2 separate regions of the Homo sapiens genome follow, and region 2 is linked to region 1. The links are contacts of gene promoters, found by promoter capture Hi-C in blood cells and fetal thymus (Javierre and others, 2016). All regions are on one chromosome and are shown on one strand. Each heading gives the region's core, a stretch centred on a gene start or on the middle of the fragment in contact. The rest is flanking DNA. Distances are from core to core; before and after follow the strand shown. Region 1 holds the start of TMEM109 (transmembrane protein 109). Region 2 overlaps DDB1 (damage specific DNA binding protein 1).

Region 1 (4,377 bases), core at 856-3,355:
ATCTTAGACATCAGAAAGGATCGCACAAGCAAATGTAAAATTGAAACTGTTAGAAAAGCTGGAAGGTGAGGTTTAGGATGCTACCAGAGCCTGTCCTGGAAGAAGGACTCTTAGCTGAGGGGCAGGAAGTGACAAGAGCTCAGATGAAGATGGATGTGTCTGAGGAACATCTGATGGAAAGAAACAACTGGGTGAGGTGACAGATTGGGAGCCTACAGAGTGTGTACTCTAGGAGGAAGGCAGAACTGGAAGGCTGAATGGTTGGGGGTGGGAGGGAAGAGTTACGTTTTAGAGGGTTGAGTTTGAGAAACAAGTTTTAACATCAAAAGGAAGCTCTCCTATGACAGCTCTTGATGGTGATAAAAACATTCAGTCAGCAACCTGGATTTTTTTTTTTTTTTTTAATGTTCATGCTTGTTGCTTCCTTGAAACTTCACACCTACTGTGAAGTGGTATTTTTAGGTCCTTTATAGTTCTTGAACGTCAAGCAATGAAGGCTCAGAGAAATGAAGCTGTGTGCTCAGGATCACACGACAGGCAAGAGATCACCTCATTCTGAAGCCCTGTTCATTCTCCTTCACGGTGCTGCTGAAGCAGGATATTGCCCTGACCTTTCACAGGACTCACAACAGGGGTGCCCCGTTTACTCAGCCCGCTGCTCTCAACTCCTCATGGGAGGGAGTACGCAAGTGAACAAGGCGGGAACTGGAGTGCACAAGCGCTGGAACAAGCCAGCCGTTTTTCAGCACCAGTGGGATCACACTCCACTCACTCAAGATTCACCGCGTTCCACCCCTCATAGGAGGGAGCGTGCAGGTGAGTGGGTGCAGGAGCCAGAGCGTGCGCTTTTGGACACCGGCAGGAGCGAACTCCGTGCAGGCCCCGGGGCAGTGTCCAGGCAGAGTGCCTGAGGCTCCTGAAGCCCCAGAGGGCATGTTACAGTGTTCTTTTGGCTCTGTCGTCCGTGGACAGCTTAAGTGTTAACAGCTCCGTGGGCCCGCGGTTGCCCTCCACCAGCAAGGGCAGAGGGCCAGCGTGACAGCTTTTGTATCCGCACTCGTGGCTCCCGAGCTCTTGTCCAGCGTCCAAGAAAAATAAAGCTGCACGAACAAATTAAAGGACAAATGCCTGGGATTTTATTGCTGATCAAAGTGGATTTCAGAGGGAAGGTGAGCTGAAAAGAGGGGGGTGGGACAGGCCGGTATGTAGTCTTCCCTTGAAGTCCAGCTATCTCCAGCCAGATTCGTCTCAGAAGTTACGCCTTAAGCTGTCCCTCTGAAGACAAGCTGCTTCTCTCTGACATCCAGCCATGGTCGTCCCCTCATCCAGCTGCTTCTCCTCTCTGCCAGATGAGTCTGGGGTCTTTCTAGGCACAGGATGAGGCAGGGCAGAGCCATGGGTGGCTTAGGAAAAGGCAACATTCAACTGGAAAAACATGGATAGAAGTTCTCACTTTGGGCCATGGTTTCAGGCTTTTTGGCTTGAGGGTGGGGTTTCACCAGGGACCCGCTCTTTTCTACCTAGCATTTATCTGCCTCCTGTCCCTATGCACTGCCTTTGTGGCAGAAAAAGGAGAGTGAGAGTTGGTTCCTCTCTTTCTCTGAAATTCTGAGCTAACATTTGGGAGCCGTCTACAGTATTCAGGTATGAATTTTCTCTCTGGGGGAGCGCATTCGTTTTCCTAGAGCAGTGTGCTTTTAATTGCTCCTTTAATATCTTTCTCTTTTGTGCCTTTTTAGCGCGAAAAGTGTATGGGAAGACTAGGTGCTCGTTAGCGGCTCGGTTAGAACTACATTGCCCACAATGCCCCAGGGAACATTTGTAGCTCTAGAACTACATGACCCAAAATGCCGAGTGGTGGCAAGAGGAGGATTAGCTTCCACTCCGATTTCAAAGATCCAGTTTACCCACTCTACAGCCCAGATATAGTCACTTATTTCCCCTTTCCAGCCAGAGACTTCCGTTCCCTGCTGGAACTTCCGATCCCATTCTTCTCTCGGTGGGAATGCTTGTGGGGGGAAAAAGAAACGCAATAGATAAAGCGGGGCGCATGCGCTCCCGGCACAGGCTTCGATTGTGAGGAAGGCCGGCTAGTCTCCGAGCTCATCCCGCCTTGCGCATGCGGAGAAGGTAAACCAGCGCCCCGAGTTGAGGCGCGGGTTTGGTGGCGCGTTTCAGCGAAGTCGCACGTGAAGGATAGCAGTGGCCTGAGAAAGGTGAGAGCGGGCCGAGGTCGGAATGTGGGGCAGCGCACGGGAAGGGGAGACAGCAGCCGCTGCAGGCGGCACCAGGCGGAGCCGCGAGGCCTGGAGAGTCCGAGTGGGGAGGGGTCCGCGCGCCCAGCGTGCGAAACAAACCGGGGACCCGGATCCCCGTTGCTATGCAACCGGGGGCGTCGTTTCCAGGCAACCCGGGAGGCGCACGTTTCCGGGGAGAAGAGGGTTGCGGCGAGGTTCCGAGGTCCGGCAGAGGTGGAGCGGCTCCCGGGCGTGGGGACCAGGCCAGCGCCAAGCCCGAGCCCCCGAACCCCGACCCACGGCCCAGCCTCCTGCAGCCTCGGCTCGAGCCCTTCGGGGGGCCCCAAACTCATGGGTCGCGCCACGTTCCTTGCCAGCGACGCTACCCCTCAGCGCTTGGCAGGGGACGCGCCGTTCGAAATAGCACATGCCACTGACACCCTGTCTCCGGGAGGCTGCGCCCCGGTTAGGGCGCGGAGCGGCAGGGAAGCTGCCCCTTTGCCGTCGCCCTGCCCCCAAACAGTTGCTGGGCAGCAGCTGTCAGGGGTTTAGTGGGAGCTGCCCCCAACCTGCCAGGGCGCTGACTTCATTCTCTGCAGTGGCGGCTTCGCCTTGTTTAGGACCTTCCTTTAGACTCAGCTGTGCTTCTCGTGTGGCTGCTGTATATTTGGATCTACTATTAAAATAACCTCCCTCCTCACCTCTCCATGGCTTTCTCGTTCGACCCTCACGGTTTCTTGGCAGGTTGCTAATATTCATTTAATAAACATTTATTAGTCATCTTTCCTACTAGGCGCTGGGGATTCCAACATGTCAAGTCTAACCGGGAGTCGCTCGGTCTACTGGGGAAGGCAGGTTGATAAACTGCTAAATTATGCTACGATATATAGTCAGTGGTAATGTGTGTGCTGCAACATTTCTATAGATGTTTAGTTTACAAAGCGCTTGCTGCAGAAATATCTTAACTCCTTACAGCAACTCTTCACCTGGGTTCACTCCCTTTTACGTTTGAGGAGACTGCAACTCAGGCAGGTTAAGTAACAGGCGTAAGGTAGTAGCTTCTAGTCCGTGGCACACTTGAGCCTGGGACGGAAGTCAGGGGTCCTTTGTACACTGCTGCACTTTTGAAGCTTTGCTTAGACTTTTCCCTGAGCTGCTGGCTATGCATCCGAAATTCCTGAGGAGCTTTGCAAAACAAAGGGCTGAGTCCCTCTCTGGAAGAGTCTGAGTGAGTAGCCCTGGGTGGGGCAGACGTCCTTGTTTAACAGGCTGCACAGGCAGTTCCGATGGGCAGCCAAAGTTGAGAACCGCCGCTCCTTAGGGGCAGCTATGAGCAGCGGCGGGACAGTCAGAGCCGGTAGAGGGCACTTTTTGCCGCCCCTCCTGCCACCTGGTGATTCATAGCATGAAATGAAACTAACAAAAGGAAAGAGAAGAGGAGGAAGGAGCCTTGATTGGGAGGGGGGGGCGCGAAATGCCCCATCCTACCCTTGTAGCAAACCACAGCTAAACATAAGCAGTGGCGCCTTCTCACTAACACAATAAGTAAAGCTGTTTCCCCAGCCAGGCTGGGCTCTCCAGACCCACCTGAGCCATATTGCAGCTGCCGAACAGAAGTGGCAGGTTTTGTCTCCCACCTTTTGCTGTCCTCTCATACCTCTTGGTACAAAACCATGGCCTGTAAGCCCAGAAGGCAGATGGTCTCCTGGTATGTGTTCCCTCGGAGGAGTCTGGATGTCCTTCCACTTTGAGCTTGTTGGTGAACTTCAGCTCCATGAGGGCAGGGACTATGTCCACTATCAAGGCAGCATGCGGGTATGGGACAAGCAAAAAGGCAAGATTGAGATCCTGGGTACTGGAGTCAAGTCCCAGCTCTGCTGTGTGATCTTGGATAAGTCACTCAACCTCTCTAAGCCATACTTTTCTGAGTAAGATGAAGAGGGTAATAATACCTTAAAAGATTGTTGTTAGAGTTAAATGAAGTGATGAAACAATAAGCACTCTGTGAATTATAAAGCACCACACAAAAATTATTATAACATATGTATATGTATAGATATGTATAACATTTGTATTATTATGAGTTGTTAATTGAGTGCCTATTATTTGTCTGAGGCCAGGCATTGCAGAAGGTGAAGAA
Region 2 (3,926 bases), core at 30-2,529, 410 kb after region 1:
TAAATTAGGAAGACTGGGCCTTTTGTCTATAAGATGAACTACAGAATATTTTTATCTGGTTTGTCATTTCTTCTGACTTACCTAATAGTGTTTTGTTTTGCTTTTGCTATGAAGTGTTTTATTTTTATATAGTTGGAATTTATCAATCTTTCTTTTTGGCTTCTGTACTTTGAGTCATAGTTATGGCTTCATTTTTTTACATTAAGTTTTTCAACCATTTAGATTCTAGCCAAGTGTACATTTGGCAGGCAGTATGAACCCAAACTTGTCTTTTCCCAAATGACTATCAATTATCCCAAAAACACCATTTATTAGGTCCCAACTTTAGGCTAGGCTCAGTGGCTCATGCCTGTGATTACAGCACTTCAGAAGGCCAAGGCGGGAGGACCGCTTGAGCCTAGGAGTTTGAGACCAGCCTGGGCAACATAGGGAGACCCTGTCTCTACCTCTACCAAACACAAACAAAATTAGCCAGGCGTGGTGGCGCATGGTTGGAGTCCCAGCTACTGGGAGGCTGACATAGAGAAGATCTCTTGAACCCAGGATATTGAGGCTATGGTAAGCCGTGATCATGCCACTGTACCCCAGCCTGGGTGACAGAGTGAGACCCTATCTCAAAAAATGAATACAAATAAAAATTTAAAAAGTCCCAACTTTACTCACTGAACTGAGAAGCCACCACTATCATACACTGAATTTCCACATGTAATTATGTCATTTCTGGACTTCTGAATCTGCCCATTAGACTCTGCCTATTCATCAGCAATACTACACTTCTAATTATAGAGGCTTAACAGTATGCTTCAGTATCTGGTAGGGCTAACATGTCTCACTGCTTTCTTTTTTTTTCTTTTTTTTTTTGAGATGGAGTCTTGCTGTGACGCCAGGCTGGAGTGCAGTGGCACGATCTCGGCTCACTGCAACCTCCGCCTCCTGGGTTCAAGTGATTCCCCTGCCTCAGCCTCCCGAGTAGCTGGGACTACAGGCACGCGCCACCACCCCCGGCTAATTTTTTGTATTTTAGTAGAGATGGGGTTTCACCATGCTGGCCAGGATGATCTCGATCTCCTGACCTTGTGATCTGCCCGCCTCGGCCTCCCAAAGTGCTGGGATTACAGGCATGAGGCATTGCGCCCGGCCTCTCATTGCTCTTTTTAAAGTTTTCCTGGTTATGCCTGCTTCTTCCTTTTTCCATTTGGACTTGTCTAAGTCAAGGAAACATTGTATACATATTCAGGTACATTAAATATAAAGAGAGAACAGCTTTATAATACTGATTTGCAGTACTTGGTGTGTCTTTTTCGTTTGATCAACTTGTTCTTTTCCTCCTTCAGGAGTATCTTTAAGTTTTCCTTGTATAGGTTTTGCACAATTTTGTTAAATGTACTCCTTGGTACTTAATCATTTTCTTGTTATGGTAAATTGCCCCCTTTCCTCTACTATGCTTTCTAATTGACTGTGTTTACATGAAAGCTATTAATTTCAGTACATTACTTTTACATCCTGCTATCTTAGTGAATTTGTATTGTCTATAGTAGTTTTTTAGTTGATTATCTTGGGTTTGTAGTTATATGATCTCTTCCTTTGCAATTTCATATACTTCTCTTTTCTTTTTTTCTTTTTTTTTTTGAGATGGAGTCTCACTATGTGGCCCAGGCTGTAGTGCAGTGGCGCAGTCTCAGCTCACTGCAACCTCCGCCTCCCAGGTTCAAGTGCCTCTCCCGTCTCAGCCTCCCGAGTAGCTGGGATTACAGGCACCCACACCATGCCTGGCTAATTTTTTGTATTTTTAGTAGAGACAGGGTTTCACCATGTTGGCCAGGCTGGTCTCGAACTCCTGGCCTCAGGTAATCCACCCACCTCAGCCTCCCAAAGTGCTGGGATTACAGGTGTCAGGCAACATGCCTGGCCATACTTCTATTTCTTTATTGACCTTTTCCCATACTTTTTTTTTCATATTCTGAATTACTCCTTTTTTTAAATTGAGATGGGATCCTGCTATGTTGCCCAGGCTGGTCTCAAACTCCTGGACTCAAGCAATCCTCCTGCCTCAGCCTCCCAAGTGGCTAGGACTACAGTCACACGCCACTGCACCTACCTTCAGAATTACTCTTTTAAAGATGTGCCTCCTATATACAACTTTAAGGTGGTTTTGTTTTATGATTTAATCTGATTATGCTGTCCTCAAACAGGACATTTACATTTACTGACATGACAGCTATGTTCCATATCAATTCTGTCATACTGTTTTAGGTTACGCTTATACATTCTAAATGTCTTTCACTGTGTAGCCTCTCTTTTTTTTTTTTTTGGTGACACAAGGTCTCATTGTCGCCCAAACTAGAGTGCAGTGGCACAATCATGGCTCTCTACAGCCTCAACCTCCTGGGCTCAAGTGATCTTCCACCTAGGCTAGAACCAAGTAACTGCAACCACAGGCATGCACCATCACCCCTGGCTAATTTTTAATTTTTTTTATAGAGATGAGGTCTACGTTGCCTAGGCTGGTCTCAAACTCCTGGGCTTAAGCAATCCTTCCACCTTGGCCTCCCAAAGTGCTGTAATGACAGGCATGAGCCACGCCACCTCGCCTAGCCTCTGATCTTTTTTTTATTAAAATTCTCCTGGAATTTAGGAAGATTTATATTTTTTATCTAGAAACCACATTTATACTTATATCTTCATAAAATATCCTCAGTCTCTCCTTTCTTTATGAATTCTATCGGTTGCCTCATATAAACAACATTAATTTTAATTTATAATCTTTTAATCCCCTAGTCCTCTATTCCACTACCAATTTTGATCAGTAGTATTTTCTTTTTTTTTTTTTTCTAAAGTTTACTTTTATACTTTCAGATATGTTTAAGCTTCTGATCTGTTGTTACGACTTTCACTCTTCACTTGATCTGCTTTCCTCTGGCTCCCACCAAAACGCCTTCACAACATGTAACAAGGCCAAAGTCCCTCATGTAAGATCTACATCCTATGCCCACCAAAAAAGCTACCTTTGATGCCTGGTAAGTCAATGCTGGCATGCTCGTGGATTCCAATTCCATTCCGGATGATCCGCAAAGAACCTTCCTTGAAAGCCCCAGAGCAAGTGACCAGCTGCAAGCAGAGAAAACGTTTCTAAAGAACCCCCTCAAGATACTGGGCCAGTCATACTGATGCCCAGAAAGTAAACACGGTATACCTAAATCCAAGAACCTTTATTGTGGGGCTAGGTTTGAGGATGCAGACTTGGCAGAGGTTGATTTCCAAAGTCTTTCAAATTTACAGAGCAGACAGGACATCCTAGTCCAGGAAGCAAAAAGCTTCTACCACTGCTCCTAGCAAGCTTGCTTAGATCGCTGGGACCTAGTTTACTAGAATGAGCACAGGATCTGTTAGATACACCTGCCACTTATTAAGTTAGGTGACTTTGGAAAAAGTTACTTAATCTTTCTCAGCCCTAATTTTCCTCACTTCTGAGATGGCCAAATATCCCTATCTAGGGTACTTGTGTAATTAGAGATAATGTATATAAAGTGCCTGGCAGACCAAGATAGGCACTCAATAAACAGTAGTTATCCTTATATCACTGGGATTCATGAGGGGGCTCTTAAAAGTATTTTCAGTGCACCCTCCCCATTCTAGATAAGCATAGCTAGGAGGACACAGTTTGAGTGGGCATATACCAACTATCCACTTTCAGAATGGCCCTTACCTGCCCCTGCCCCTGCCTCTCCAGGTCCACCACGCACATATCGACAATGGGTCCTAAGTTGGTAAAGGTTTCCATGGCCACTACATAGGAGCCTTGTTCATTACTGTCAACGTTGAGCTAATAAGAAAGAACAATGTTATGTTAGTCCTAGAACACCCTAACAGACCCACCCAAAAGAGATGGTTATTGTCCAAAAGAAACTCTCAATAACTAGTTTCTA

What was found. Contacts are between HindIII fragments. The CHiCAGO score rates a contact against its expected background, and 5 or more counts as called.
Region 2: a contact is called between a fragment that was not itself captured here and the fragment with the promoter of TMEM109 in region 1, in 1 of 17 cell types (activated CD4 T cells). The highest score is 5.3, in activated CD4 T cells.

The regions. Positions count from the first base shown.
Region 1 is chr11:60,912,053-60,916,429 of GRCh38, forward strand. It overlaps TMEM109 (transmembrane protein 109), which reads left to right and starts at 2,106. Exons shown (of 4, transcript NM_024092.3): 1 at 2,106-2,216. TMEM109-DT (TMEM109 divergent transcript) reads right to left here and starts at 2,011. Exons shown (of 2, transcript NR_186356.1): 1 at 1,908-2,011; 2 at 1,114-1,425. RefSeq lists enhancers at 345-1,343, 2,342-3,340, 2,735-2,904, 3,965-4,014 and a silencer at 2,395-2,554. The HindIII fragment of the contact is 3,992 bases long and covers 1-3,365 here.
Region 2 is chr11:61,318,590-61,322,515 of GRCh38, forward strand. It overlaps DDB1 (damage specific DNA binding protein 1), which reads right to left. Exons shown (of 27, transcript NM_001923.5): 9 at 3,707-3,823; 10 at 3,006-3,108. Among named protein-coding and RNA genes, the nearest start is that of DDB1, 13 kb to the right of the region's middle. The HindIII fragment of the contact is 3,172 bases long and covers 1-2,865 here.